4 separate regions of the Homo sapiens genome follow, and all the other regions are linked to region 2. The links are contacts of gene promoters, found by promoter capture Hi-C in blood cells and fetal thymus (Javierre and others, 2016). All regions are on one chromosome and are shown on one strand. The core of a region is centred on a gene start or on the middle of the fragment in contact, and the rest is flanking DNA. Distances in the headings are between cores, read along the strand shown. Region 1 holds the start of FNTB (farnesyltransferase, CAAX box, subunit beta). Region 2 holds the start of PALS1 (protein associated with LIN7 1, MAGUK p55 family member). Region 3 overlaps SRSF5 (serine and arginine rich splicing factor 5). Region 4 overlaps MAX (MYC associated factor X).

Region 1 (3,222 bases), core at 723-3,222, 2.3 Mb after region 2:
CAACATTATCATCCTACTACCTGAAACTGTTCATCCTAGACTCTAATAATGTGTGCTGGAATAACAACATGAAAAAGAAATATAAGATTCTTTACTGTCTGCCATACCGTTGGGTCTAGATTTGAAAGATACTCGCACCAGGAGCAGTGGCTCACGACTGTAATCCCAGCACTCTAGGAGGCCGAGGAGGGCAGATCACTGGAGGTCAGGAGTTCAAAACCAGCCTGGCCACATGGTGAAACCTGTCTCTACTAAAATACAAAAATTAGCCAGGCGTGGTGGTGGGCGCCTGTAGTCTCAGCTACTCTGGAGGCTGAGGCAGGCGAATGGCGTGAACCCGGGAGGCGGAGGGTGCAGTAAGCCAGTGCATCCCAGCCTGGCAACAGGGCGAGACCCCATCTCAAAAAAAAAAAAAAAAAAAAAGGCAATCCCATAGTCTAAGGTCAGATAATAAGTAAAACACTTGACCTGAATCAACTCAGCAATCCATCATTTAGGAATTCTGCAAAGATCCTGTAGGTTTTTCATCAATGGGAAATTTCTTTACAATCTTTTGCAGTCAGCCTTCCCTGGGACACACTGGTAGGCAAACCAACCTGGAGAATTAGCTAGATTCGAGAGGTGAGGATTTCCTTTGCTACCCTAAATTCCATGAAGTTTAAATCTCCAGTTAAAATATTTTCTCTGCTACTTTGTGAATAACCACGTATCAAGCCCTTGTTTCTGTTATAAATTTATAATTCTATTTAGTCATAACTGTACAATAAAACAATTATTGTTACTAATTTTGCCAAAGTACAGGCTTCCAACTTAAAGTAGGAAATACAAAACAGGTCTCTCCAAGGTAAAGCCTGGAGACTGATCTCACTAAGAGATCTTATTTCAGTAAGCAGCAGAATGTTCATTTATTAGTGTTAAGAATTATCCTAACCACTTCTCCTAGGGACAGATGGATAAACAGTTCCACATAGCAACCTTGGGAACAATTCCAATTAGGGAATAAGAAGAAAAACAAAACTATGGTTTTGGGCATATGAATATATACTCATTCGCCAAACACTTTTCAAAATGATAGGTTCGATCCTACTTCTAGGCCTTAGGGAATGATTAGTAGTCCAAAATCCATTCTTTCTATTAGATCACTTTCCAAACTGTTTTCCTGCCTGTCCCCCAACCAGGCTCCTGGTCAGGAGCTGTTTTATTTCCTTGTACTTCCATCGTTTAATATTGTGTCCGACACGTAGCTGGTGCTCAAATGGCTGAATGACTACCAAAATGCCCACCCACGAGGCGGGCCCCCAAACCTGGCACTGTAGGTCAAAAATTAAACAGATCGTGAAACGGCATGACAGCAGCCTGGCCCTGCTCTCTGCCTCCAGAAGCTGAGGGCAGGTTGGGAAAAGTGCACTATGCACCCCAGAACCTCCCGAAGTACTGGCAGAACAGAGTGGGCTGTCCGACCCGCACGGGCTGCCTCTGTCCTCCAGGCATAGAACACGATTCTTCTCGTTCTTTAGGGCAGAGGGGACTCGGCTACTGCCCTCTCCTCCAAGCCCAACCTTGAAACGACCCTTCCCCAAGCTGGCCGCGCAAACGCTCCACGACGAAGCCCAAGCCTGGGCGCCCGGAGCTTCCCAGAGGAAAGGCACCGCGGTGCGCTGTGGGAGTCGTAGTTCCCCGGTGAGTTCCGCACCCGGGCGGCCCTACGAACGGGACTCGCGCTCCCAGAACACATCGCGCGGGCGCCTCGCCCAGTCCTGCCACCTCACCTGTTCTATGGACGTGACTGTTTCCACCGAGTCGTCCTGCAACCGCTCTCGCGCGTGCTCGGGCCTCAGACTGTACAGCGGCTCTGACCAGACGGGGGAGGAAGATGGAGGGCAATAGTAGGTGAAAGAACTCGGAGAAGCCATGATCAGGAGAGCAGCAGACAGTGTGTAGGACTCTGCTTCGTTAAGCAACAACGCGCATTGAAACTCGAGCGGGCTAAAGCGCTACGGCGAGCGGATAGAGGCAAAAAGATTTTGAACGCGAATGTCTCCTCCCGCCTACCCGTCTTTCGAGTGAGTTACTGAGATGCTGCCGCCCCCCATTGGGCAGAGGAGCTGCTGCAAGAGCGTAGAGTCCTGAAGCGCAAGGGTGTCTACATCCGAATTTCATTTCAGCGAGATGGCGTAGGACGCCTCGGTTTGTTACGCAAATTGTTAAAGAACTGTAACATTCTGCTAATTCTCACTTAATTGTAATGCAATTGTTTGCAATTTCAGGTGCCCAAGAACCCAATGAATGTTAAGTTTGAAAGCATTTCTGACAGCTCTACTGATTTGCCTCAGTCAGGCAATTACTAAAAGAATTATTGTGCACCTTGGGGTACTTGACAGCCTCCCAGGAGAAGGCAGCAGCTGCTCAAACGTGCAAGGACGCCGTCTCAGTATCACTCAGTGATGGAGGGAGGGGGGTATTATGATTTTCTCCTGTCTCTTGGAGGTTACACTGCAGTAGCGAGAACTGAAATGCAGTACAAGGAACAAGGATAAGTGAAATAGACAGTCAGTCCGCAGATATTTATGGAACACCTGCTATGTGTCAGGCATTGTGCTAGGTTCTAGGAATACAAAAGTGAACAAAACGAAGTCCCTTCCCTTGGAAACCTTACATTCTAAGAAAATCGACAGAATTGAATGTATCCAACGCAATAAATATATGAAGACTTGTGATAAATGAGATGAAGGAAAATAACAGGGTCTATGAGAGAGACTAAAGGGGTAAGAAACTAATTGAATTGTATGGTCAGGCCAAGCCTCTCTAAATGACCTTTCATTTGAGATCCGAAGGATGACGAGGAGTCATCCAGAAGAACAGTATGGGAAAGAACTCCTGAAAAAGGAAGAAACAGCAGCTTTTAGAAGACATGTGCTGGGCACGGTGGCTCACGCCTGTAACCCCAGCACTTTGGGAGGCTGAGGCAGGAGGATCACTTGAGGAGTTAGAACATCCTGGGCAACATAGCAAGACCTCATCTCTATTAAATATCAAAAAAATTAGCCGGGCGTGGTGGCGCATGCCTGTAGTCCCAGCTGCTCGACAGGCTAAGGTGGGAGGATCTCTTGAGCCCAAGAAGTCGAGGCTGCAGTGAGCTATGATTGTGCCACTGCACTCCAGCCTGGGTGGCAGAGCGAGACCCTGTTTCAAAAAAAAAAAAAAAGCAAAACAAAAAAACAA
Region 2 (3,494 bases), core at 344-2,843:
GCCCTCAGGAGATCCTGAAAACACGTGCCCCTGTGATGAGATTTTTAATCAAAATCATAATTCAAGATCATGTAAAAGCTAAACCCACTGTACTGACTTGGGTCACCCTCAAGTAGAACTTATATATTCTCTCCCGTTTTAACATTCTAAAACAAATTAATGTTAATCAATCCACCTTAATTTGTCAAGTTCAAGTCCGTCTTGCCAAAACTAATTCAGGTACATGGTAAAATTTACCAGATTTTTAAAGATAAAATAATGAATTGCTTTTCCTATTTTTGCCTGTTTTATCTATAAATCTCTTACATTATAATTTAATAGCTCATCCTGCCGCAAATAGAAAGCCTATAAAACCTATCCACAATAGCTATGTCCACAGGGATCTAGTAAAAAAAAAAAATCGTAGTTCTTAATTCAAGGAAGCTTATTTAATAAGTTTCATTACCACCAATACTTCAAAGACACCAATAACCAACACGTCATTTGTTCCTATTGCATAATTTAACAGGTTATTAACTTCTGGTATAATCCAAAAGCATAATTAGTAAACTATCATTAAAACATGATATTGCTTTTTTAAAAAATCAGAAATATTAACACCTTTCACTGCGTCAGTCAAATCAAAATTTCAAAATTTTTGTTCAACTGACTTTCCAAATCTAAATTCTTACTATTCTAAACGAGTATGGAGACAAAACACACACTCCATACTACATCTAAAAACTTCCTAGCCATCAGATTTTAATTTTAGCATAAACTGCCAAGAAAAACCTTTTGACCGAAACCTACATTCCGTACACATTACTGTATGTCAATCAACAGAAGGTGAGTTATGATCATTAGAAAGTTACATAATTTACTACAAAGATCGTTTAAAGCAAACTTCATTAAACGTAGGTTATAACAATTTACATGCTTCAAAGTTCAACGTGCAACCTTAAAGTATCAGAAACCATGAACAAAACTAGGCTTTTCTTTTAAAGTGGTCACAAGGAAGCAGGAACTGTTTGCGTGTTTAAGAACGCAATGAGCAGCAGAATACCAGCAGCTGAGTCAGGCAGAGGAACGCTGACTACATTCTGACTTCTAAAGGAAAGCGTTCCCTCGCCGATTTCCCAGACCCGGCCGGGAGAGTCCCGCGCGTCGCGACCTCGGAGAGAGGGCGCAGGGGGCAGACGACTCCCCGCCGCGCCCCCTGCACCTCGGGCTCGGCTGGCTGTGGCCCGCGCCAAGGTGCATGCCCAGCCAAGCAGAAGGAGCGGGCACCGCGCAGGCAGCGTTGCTCCGAGGGACAAAGGTTGGGCTCACACCCTCCACGGCCGCAGCTCGCGCGCCTGAGGAAGCCCGCCTGGCTGCCAGGGGTCTCCCGCTGGCCGGAGTTTGCGCAGCGTGTGGGGGAAGGGGAGCCCGGCCGCCCGCCCCTCCCCCGCCGCGCTCCCAGGGACCTGTTGATTAAGATCTCTACAGCCCAGCCGCCGCCGATCCGCCTCTTACCTCCACGCCTCGGCTCCGCGGAGCCTCCCGCCCCGGCCGCTCCTACGCACTGCAGAAGCGACAGCCCTCCGGCGGCCCTTGAAATTCCGGATAAAGAATCCAGAAACTCCCGACTCCCCACCTCAGAATCCTTAGTCCCCGCCCCCGCCCCACCGCCTGCCTCCTCCGTCGCCGCCGTCACCGCCGCAGCCGCCAGCAACTCCACTTCTAGACCGCGCGAGACCGGCCCCTGCGGCCGCCGCGAGACCGCGCACGCGCCCCCGGGACTCTGGCGCAGTGGGCGCGCGGATCCGAGTCCCACCCCGCCCGTGAGAGGCTGGCGCGGCTTGCCCAATCCCGAGCCGGAGCGGAGAGAGCGCCCGCTCATTGGTCCTCTCCGCAGCTCCAGCCGGGTGCGCGCAGTCGCGCGCCTCTAAGTCTAAAACGCGGACTGCTCCGGGCTAGCTGGCCCGGTAGAGCCCCTTCGGGATTTGGCCGGCGGGCTTTGTGGGGACGCGAGGCTTCCCTGGGTTTCTACATCCCTTGGCTCTTGTCTCTGGATGACGTATCCTGAAGAAAATCTGATTCCTCTTGAAGAGATTCCTCATGTCCTGTCAAGTTAGTCACCCAATCTAACATTTGTTTTTTTTAAAAAATGACATAAACACCTGGATGTGTGCAGTGTCCCGCAGAAGACTGCATAAAGCCAGCAGCTGCACTGATTTCTGAAAACCAGAAAGCAAGGATAGCAAGGACTAGAACTATTTCCCAGAAGTCTCCCGAAGGGACAGAGTTACGCAGATCAGCCCGTGCTCCGGGCATGGCTGGCGCCCTCGGGACCTGGATGTGCCACCCTTGGAATGGGGCAGGACTCAGGCGGGTGCGGGCGGAAGTCAGAGCAGATTGGAGGACGTTCTAAGGAGAAACACCAGCAATGTGTCTCGACACTTGCAATAAAAGCCCTCGGATGGTCTCTGTCTTGACAGTACCTTCCGAGCAAGCCCATTCCACATTTGAACACTTGCAAGGTTTGTTAATCGACCTCTCCTTCTATGAGGCCAAACTATGCCTGTGACTCCAGCCCGGGGGCACAGTTTCCCCCAGGGGCACAGTCCTCCCTCAAAGCCTTCGTATATGCCATTTCCATTTCTCTCGGTTTTCCTCATTTTGTCCCACGGTGTTTTTCCATCTCGCAATGTCCTCAGGTCCTGATTTTCAAGCTCTTTCACATTCTTCCCCATTACGCTCCTCTGGACAGCCTATGGGTTGTGGTGTCCCTCACTAAGGACACTGTGATGGCCTGAACGAAGCAAACCGTTGTTCCTGGTGGTGAAGATCTTTGGGGATGCCTACCCTTCCCAGATTTGTTATCCTTCTCAAATCTGATCAGCATTCTGTCCAAGTGTTTAATAAGACAGAGCGGAGGACAGAACTCTGCTGCATGCCACTAAAGACCTTAATGCTCCTGCCATCAAAAATTTCTCAGTAGGCTTCGAATACAGGTGGACGACACAACCGAACTGTCTTCTTGGCCCATATTCCTCCATAAAGATGCCATGAGAACTGGTGAAATGCCTAACTGAAATCCAGATAAAGTCTCCAGGATTCCTAGAAACTACTAGCCATACCCCAAAAGAAAAAACGGTTACTGTGTGTGACTTACTTCCTTTTCTAAGTTCTTTTGTTTTTGTTTTTGTTTGAGACGGAGTTTCGCTCTTTTGCCCAGGCTGGAGTAAAGTGGCGCAATCTCGGCTCACTGCAACCTCCGCTCCCCGGGTTCAAGCGATACTCCTCCCTCAGCCTCCCCAGTATCTGGGATTACAGGTGCCAGCCACCACGCCCGGCTAATTTTTGTATTGTTAGTAGAGACGGGGTTTCGCCACATTGGCCAAGCTGGTCTTGAACACCTGACCTCAGGTGATCCACCTTTCTCAGCCTTCCAAAGTGCTAGGATTACAGGCGTGAGCAACCGTGCCCCGCCTCTAAGTTCTTAAATATATAACATAAATAATAATTCAAGA
Region 3 (3,488 bases), core at 925-3,424, 2.5 Mb before region 2:
TGAAAAATGAAAAGAAATCAGCCTAGATAAGACTCTACAACAAACCCATTAAATACAACTTTTGACTTTAAAAAATTAGAGATACCTGTGCCTTTTGCTGCCTTCAATTAATTTTATTTTTCTCCCATTTATTTCCTTTCCAGAAAGTTTTTCAATAGCATTCTTTAAGTCACCATAAGAGGCAAACTCAACCACCCTAAAATGGAAAACAGCCACTTTTAAAGTATATACATCCTGTAGTCTCACACATTGCACACAGCAGTCTAGGTAAGTCGTTTCTATGTTCACTTTTGCTATTGCTACTATTGAGTCTTATTTCTGGATAACACAGCATTAAAAGAGCAAAGTTTTGGCACTGTTATACTTTGAGCCAATTCATTGTTGAGGGGGTTCCCTATGCACCGTGGGATGCTTAGCAGGATGCCTAGCCCCTACTGACTACATGCCAACAGCATCCTCTCTCAACCAGTTGTGACAACCAAACTTGTCTCCAGACACTGCCAAAGGTGTGGGGGGGAGGAGGGAAGCAGCAAAATTGTCTCTGGAGAATCTCTGCATTCTAACATATTCAAATTTTAAGTCCTCAAAACTAAGTTCACAGTAAAATTTTCCGGATATTTTTAAAGACTTTCACAGTTTCCAGTACATACCCTTCATTTAATTTAGGTCGGTGTGCATCCGCAAACGTTACTTCCCCAGCTTGTCTCATGAAATCTTTGAGATCCTTAACACAAGATAATTGTGTTAAGCAAAGAAGAGGAAAGGGGACACACAAACAATCACATGATATAAAAAAAACAAGACTACTGAAAGAGAAGATGTTAGATAAAGTACAAACATGGCATTTACCACACTTGTATTCTATCAGAATTCAAAAATTATCTATGTCAGGGCACGGAATAAGCAAATAGCATATTGCTTTTAAGCAAAATGCTAAAAGAAATTCAGATTTTAACATTAAGGTAGTATTAGTCTATGCTGAGCTCAGTACAAAAGAAAAAAAAACAAACAAAAAAACAACAAAAAAGGAAACAGTACATATTTTTAAAGTAAAGACTAAAGTAGAGAAGTTTTATTTAAAAAAACAGAACATTTACAAGACACCAGTTATTTTGTGCCCCATATGTCATTAAAAAAGTTTACTTTACCTTTATTATTATTTCCCTAGGCTAGTCAAGCAGCAAACCATTAATCGGTCGGAGAAACCTTCATGACATATGCCCGACTGGCTCTTCGCCACCCACTTGAAGGACACTACCCAATCGATGGAAGCCTTTAATCGCACAGCCCTCCCTATTAGCGGACTATTGGCGGATGCAGACATGTTCTACTCGAGCAGTTACCAAGGACCACTTTACTGCGATCAGGATTCCAACGACCACCTAATTTCGTATCTTTCAACTCTTTTCGACCGGACCTCTTATTCGGAAGCGTTACAGGAAGACAGGTCTCAACTTAGGGATCAGATCACGTTATCAACGCTCTGGGATCGCTGCAACCTGGCACTTCAAGGAAGTGCACCGATAACGTCTAGACCGGCAAACACAGATCTAGAGGTGGCCAACTGATCACTGTAGGAGCTGACTGGCAAAGTCAACCAGGCCCAACCAAGAGTGACCAAGACAACGATTAGGATAACCCACAGGCACTCCTCGTCATAAGGCCAACGACACAGACAGGCTGGCAAATAAAGGGTTTAATATTTGGTTAAAAATTGATTTTAAAAAACAAGAAAAATATCCTCAAAACATTTACATTTGATCACTAATATTAAAGTTCAAAATATCCCCCAAATTACATTTAATTAAATGTTTAAAATTACAATTCCATTAAATCCATTAATTTAAAACTACTTTTAATAAAACAATACAACATTAGCTACCCATTAACTTTTTTAAAAAGCCACATCAAAATAACTCAAAACTGTATTTCAACAAACCTGCCAGCTGACTCTTGAGGATAAATTCTCAACTATAAGACGATTTTCTGTTCTTACAGGTGGAGCATTTCTGAGGAAGAAAATTCGTATTCACAATGGAAGAAATGCAATGACAGCACTTGTGTTCAACTGTGGGCAAGTTCAAGCCATCAGATATCACAAGCCATTCTAATGACTTCCGTCAATAGATTTGTGTTCTATGACTCATATAGATTCATCAAGAACAACTGGCTAACGTGGGAATAGAAGAACAGATTATACGGCAGGACCCAAAATCATCACTGCTAATGACTCCTGAATCTTAAATGCTACCCCTACAATAATTGTTCAATGCAGCCATCCACCCTTCACATACCGTCTATCATTTCGAGGTCTGCGACTACTAAAACGGTCAGAGTATCGTCCTCTACCTCTTCCACCTCGTGACCGAGCCCTAGCATGTTCAATAGTAACCCTACAAAAAGGGAAGAAAAATCTCCGTTACACACTTAAGCTACATAAATCTACTTAGAAAAATATGCCAGCAGACCCAGTCTGCTCTATGTCCCAGGGTTATCTAGTTACACAGGAATCTCACCTTTCACTACAGAGTTCTTTTCCATCAAGCTCATACACAGCATCATCTGCATCCCTTGGATCCTCAAATTCCTAAAATGTAAGCATAAGACTCTTAACATTGGCTTTAGAAGAGTATTCTACAACACATTAAGAGCACTGAAATCAGGAGACAGAATGGGAAGAGTATCTTAACGACACTGCCATACAGTCAAACCTAATCAAGGAGCCACTGGGAGTGGGGTTCCAGTGAGCCGGCAAGTTAAAGTTGTTTTCAGCCTCAATAAAATTCAGACATAAGGCTGGGTAACATTTTCTGAAGGCAAATATTCCACCCGGACTCAAGATCGAAAACAACTGCTTATCAAAACTCTACCTACTTAGCAGATAATTCACCCAGTTCTAAATACTTACCACAAAACCAAAGCCTCTTTTCAGATCAATATCTCTTATCCGTCCATATCCCTTGAAGAATCTTTCCACGTCCTTCTCCCTGGCCGCTGGATTTAGTCTCCCGATGAATACCCGACAGCCACTCATGATGTCCGGCTAGTACTTCCTATTAGAAAGTAATTCAATCGAGATAATAGCAATGACTGTCACAGAGAAACGCCTGATTAAACAATCAAAAACATCAACGGCATAAAATGTTTACACAGTGATGTTATGAACGAGATTGCCAACAGAGCCTCTAATGAGGCCAGGTTACCTGCAGACAAAATGAAAACCCAGCTCCCTCCCAACACGGTCCGCTACTGGGCCCAGACCGCAGCAACCGCAACGCCCACTGCCACCTTTCCAACTGCGCAGCCGCACACTCTCCGGGCTCTCCGGCCCCCTCCCATCTGCCGCAGTTAGGAAAGGCCGAGAAGTGCGGGCGGAGCCGCCCGCGCCCTCCGCAAAGCCAGCCCAATGGCGGCCTCGCGGGCGCGTCACAGCGGGTGGAAGCCAGAATCTCGCGACGCCTCGACCGCGCCTGCGCCAACAGCAGCGG
Region 4 (3,070 bases), core at 248-2,747, 2.1 Mb after region 2:
GCACCTGACTGAGTTGCAGTTGCAGTATACTTGTGAGGGGTTTGAAAACAGATTTGTGCAATTCCACTTCTGGACCTTTCTGGCATGAAATATTTTTAACTTCTCAGAGCTCTTTGCTTCTTTAGGAATATTCAGAAGAGAACGAGCTTGGTAGCCTCCGAGATTGGAATTCACTCAGGAAACTACTGTCTGTTTTACCTGCAGTCAGTTGCATGGCAAAAGTGCTGCACAATGCATGTACTTTTTCTCTGCTTAGAGTGTTGACAGTGATGCTTACAGTGATAACAAATGCCAGAGTTAGTTCCTAAATGTGCCTGTGTTAGGGTAAAAGTTGTTCTTATGTCTAAAAGAATTTTTCCAAGATGCCAGTAACGGTGAAATAGTTGGTCAAAGAATTCAGCTTGGTTTTTAATTAAAATTTCCTGACCAAGGCATCCTTCTCTGAAATGGCTATAGTATGAGGCCCTGTTTGGATTATAGCATTTGCCAGTTATTTTAGGCACCAAAAGAAAAAAGTTTGAAAACAAATACATACATTAGATAATGTTGGAAATGTATACCAGGCAATCAGCTACAAGCAGGACAGGTATTGGAAAATTGAAATCCATGTCTTTCTCTTAGGGAGCTTGGTGAGTTTATCCCATCCTACCTGCCTATTATTTTATGTTATAATTTTTGGGTTGATTAAAATGAATATTTTAAGTTGCTTAGAAATTGAGCTTTATCCTATCTTGTTCTTATCTATCAGAAGTAAGAAATAGATCTTTTCGGATGAGATTTTTGGGTCTGTGTATTCTCGTGTCCTTAGTCTCTAATAAGAATAGCTTGATAAGAATCATAAGCAACACAAGCTTCCCTCTAAAATACAACCTTCACATTTTGTAAAGGTAGTAAATATTGAGTGGGCAACTAATTCCCTATATGCTGAGAATTTTCTGTATTAGAATTGAGATGGTTCCCCTTATAGGTGGGGTTAGCTGTCAGGTAGCCTGTAAGACATGGCATTGTTCTGGAGAACCTTGTGCATCCTGGAATAATGAAGCATTTATTTCCCCGTGCTATTTGCCTAGAACTTGGAGGAAATAAGATTACTGACTGATGTGATGCCTTGAACAAAGATGCAGTCTCTCTGCAGTAAGTTGGAAGGAAATAATTTTAAGAGATTTCCCTCAATTTTGAACAGACCTCCTTAGCCTAGATGACTTCTTGCCAACATAGCAACTTCTTGGCTAACAAAATAATGTTTGTCTTCAACATCTAACAACACTTAAGATACACGTGCTTGGTAGTGTCAAAGATGGACAAATTGTAGGTGAAGATTTTTATTCTGTCTACCAGTGTGGAAAGTTGGGTAGAAATATAACTGAGAGGCTGAATAAAAACTTTGGCAGAGATGTCAAAGCTGGAAGTGATTTGGTGCGGGAGTTTCTGTTGAGCATCTGTGGACCACTGCATAGCCCCTTAGTATTTCTGTTAGGGATGCCCTGGAGGAAGGGTTTTCTGGCAGACATCCAGACGTACAAATCCAGCGTACTAGAAGAGTGGGCAGCATCCAGCCACTGTAACCATAGGATGTGTAGGGGAGATGTTTGGGAGCCTGCTGTACAGTCCAAGAATACCTCTGTGGTCTCCTAGAATAGGGCCTAATTAATTCCACAAGGGGGTTTTCCGTACCATTTGTTTTCATTACTGAACATCATTCTCAGTACAGGCTCATCTGAGTAGAGTTTTATTTGTTCAAGACAATTGTTTGGGCTTGTTTTTTAAAACCAGTTTTGCATTTGGGGGAGGATATTAGATGCCTTACACTGGGAGTCTTCACCCAGTTTTTCTTCTTCAACTCTGAAATCTTGGCCCTCTCAAAAAGGGTTGCCAGCAAGCAAAGACAGTTAACAAGGCAGTGATAAAGCCTGCAAACTAGTCCTCCAATGGGGGTGGGGATGAGGCGCGGGCAGTGTTATTGGTCTGGGTGGATCTGTGGTTTGGAAATGTTTCCCACAGAGAATTCTCAGCCTTGTGTAAAGGTTTTTCTGTTTTTCATGTGCTCTTTCAAAACATTAGTGATAACATTTAATTCACAGTTGCCTGGAATTAGGCTTGTTAGTTCTGCATGTTTTTAACTTGTTCTTTCAAATCAAGCTTGGGGAAGAGAAAAATACATCCTTGCCATTGTCTCTGAGAGATTTAAAATTGACTCCACTAGTAGCTCAGGGATGGACATGGCAGCAGGGATTGGTGTAAGATTCCACTCTTCTGCTAGTTAAATTGGGCCTGGAACCACTACAGAAATTCCATCCACTACTTTGAGAACAACAGTCCCCAGCCCAGGCTTTCTACCAGGCAGTGGACTGCTGCCTTTCCTTGTTGAGCCAACTTCTCAAACTTGGCTGGCTCCCCAGATGAGAAGCCAAGATTTCTGCTCATGATCTACAGCCAAGTTCACTTACAATCCTCCAACCGAGAGACTTGTCCATTTGAGTCCTTTCAGAGCTCAGTGAATGGGAGGGGGTAGTGCATTGTGGGGATGATTTTGGTGTTAGATTATACTTAGCTCCACCCCTTTAGTGCAGGTCCACGTGAAACCAAGTGCAACTTCATTCTAGCTGTTTGAGATTTGCAGGGCTCTCCCAGAAAGAAAACAGACAATTAGAATTTTATTTGTATCAACAAGAGGGATTGTGGGTAATTCTGGTGCACAGCTCTTAGCTGGGAGGAGGGCCAAGAATCAGGGTGATTTAGTAGACAGGAGTATCTTGGGCTGCTCTGGAGACCAAAGATGGGCAATTAATTTGCATGTAAATAAACCACCTTAGGTAGTATATAGCAAACAGGAGCCGCAGACACATGCCAAATATTGTCTCTTGGCCTTTAAGCTCCTTAGGTATAGTCGCAGCCCAACTTATCTTTATGTAGATGATCAGAGGGAACAACAGTAAGTTCAAAAGGACTAGATACTTAAATAGGTTCAATTCTGTCGCACTATTTCATGCTACTGTTAGAAGGCATCTATAATTTTGCGCTAAAGTTGTATGATACAGAGTACCTACCTCTACCCTCAGGTTATGTGGTG

Evidence for each region. Contacts are between HindIII fragments. The CHiCAGO score rates a contact against its expected background, and 5 or more counts as called.
Region 1: the fragment with the promoter of FNTB here is called in contact with the fragment with the promoter of PALS1 in region 2 in 1 of 17 cell types (M2 macrophages); the score reaches 5.2 in M2 macrophages.
Region 3: a fragment that was not itself captured here is called in contact with the fragment with the promoter of PALS1 in region 2 in 1 of 17 cell types (monocytes); the score reaches 8.1 in monocytes.
Region 4: a contact is called between a fragment that was not itself captured here and the fragment with the promoter of PALS1 in region 2, in 4 of 17 cell types (naive CD8 T cells, fetal thymus, non-activated CD4 T cells and 1 more). The highest score is 6.4, in naive CD8 T cells.

Annotation. Positions count from the first base shown.
Region 1 is chr14:64,985,645-64,988,866 of GRCh38, reverse strand. It overlaps FNTB (farnesyltransferase, CAAX box, subunit beta), which reads right to left and starts at 1,972. Exons shown (of 12, transcript NM_002028.4): 1 at 1,770-1,972. The coding sequence starts at 1,913. All of the region lies in intron 3 of CHURC1-FNTB (CHURC1-FNTB readthrough), which reads right to left. LOC107984655 (a long non-coding RNA gene) reads left to right here and starts at 1,754. Exons shown (of 2, transcript XR_001750792.2): 1 at 1,754-2,187; 2 at 2,268-3,222. The HindIII fragment of the contact is 3,816 bases long and covers 1-3,222 here.
Region 2 is chr14:67,239,534-67,243,027 of GRCh38, reverse strand. PALS1 (protein associated with LIN7 1, MAGUK p55 family member) reads right to left here and starts at 1,593. Exons shown (of 15, transcript NM_022474.4): 1 at 1,495-1,593. It overlaps LOC124903330 (a long non-coding RNA gene), which reads left to right and starts at 1,619. Exons shown (of 2, transcript XR_007064217.1): 1 at 1,619-3,494. It also overlaps a transcript of GPHN not described here. RefSeq lists a silencer at 1,012-1,981 and an enhancer at 1,962-2,241. The HindIII fragment of the contact is 3,073 bases long and covers 426-3,494 here.
Region 3 is chr14:69,767,703-69,771,190 of GRCh38, reverse strand. It overlaps SRSF5 (serine and arginine rich splicing factor 5), which reads right to left. Exons shown (of 8, transcript NM_001320214.2): 2 at 2,909-3,053; 3 at 2,517-2,587; 4 at 2,295-2,393; 5 at 1,940-2,009; 6 at 651-724; 7 at 86-196. The coding sequence starts at 3,034. It overlaps LOC100289511 (a long non-coding RNA gene), which reads left to right and starts at 3,478. Exons shown (of 1, transcript NR_029378.1): 1 at 3,478-3,488. RefSeq lists enhancers at 1-676, 3,123-3,172, 3,169-3,488. The HindIII fragment of the contact is 6,506 bases long and covers 1-3,488 here.
Region 4 is chr14:65,095,408-65,098,477 of GRCh38, reverse strand. The region is part of intron 2 of MAX (MYC associated factor X); the gene reads left to right. Among named protein-coding and RNA genes, the nearest start is that of MAX, 5.6 kb to the left of the region's middle. The HindIII fragment of the contact is 1,288 bases long and covers 854-2,141 here.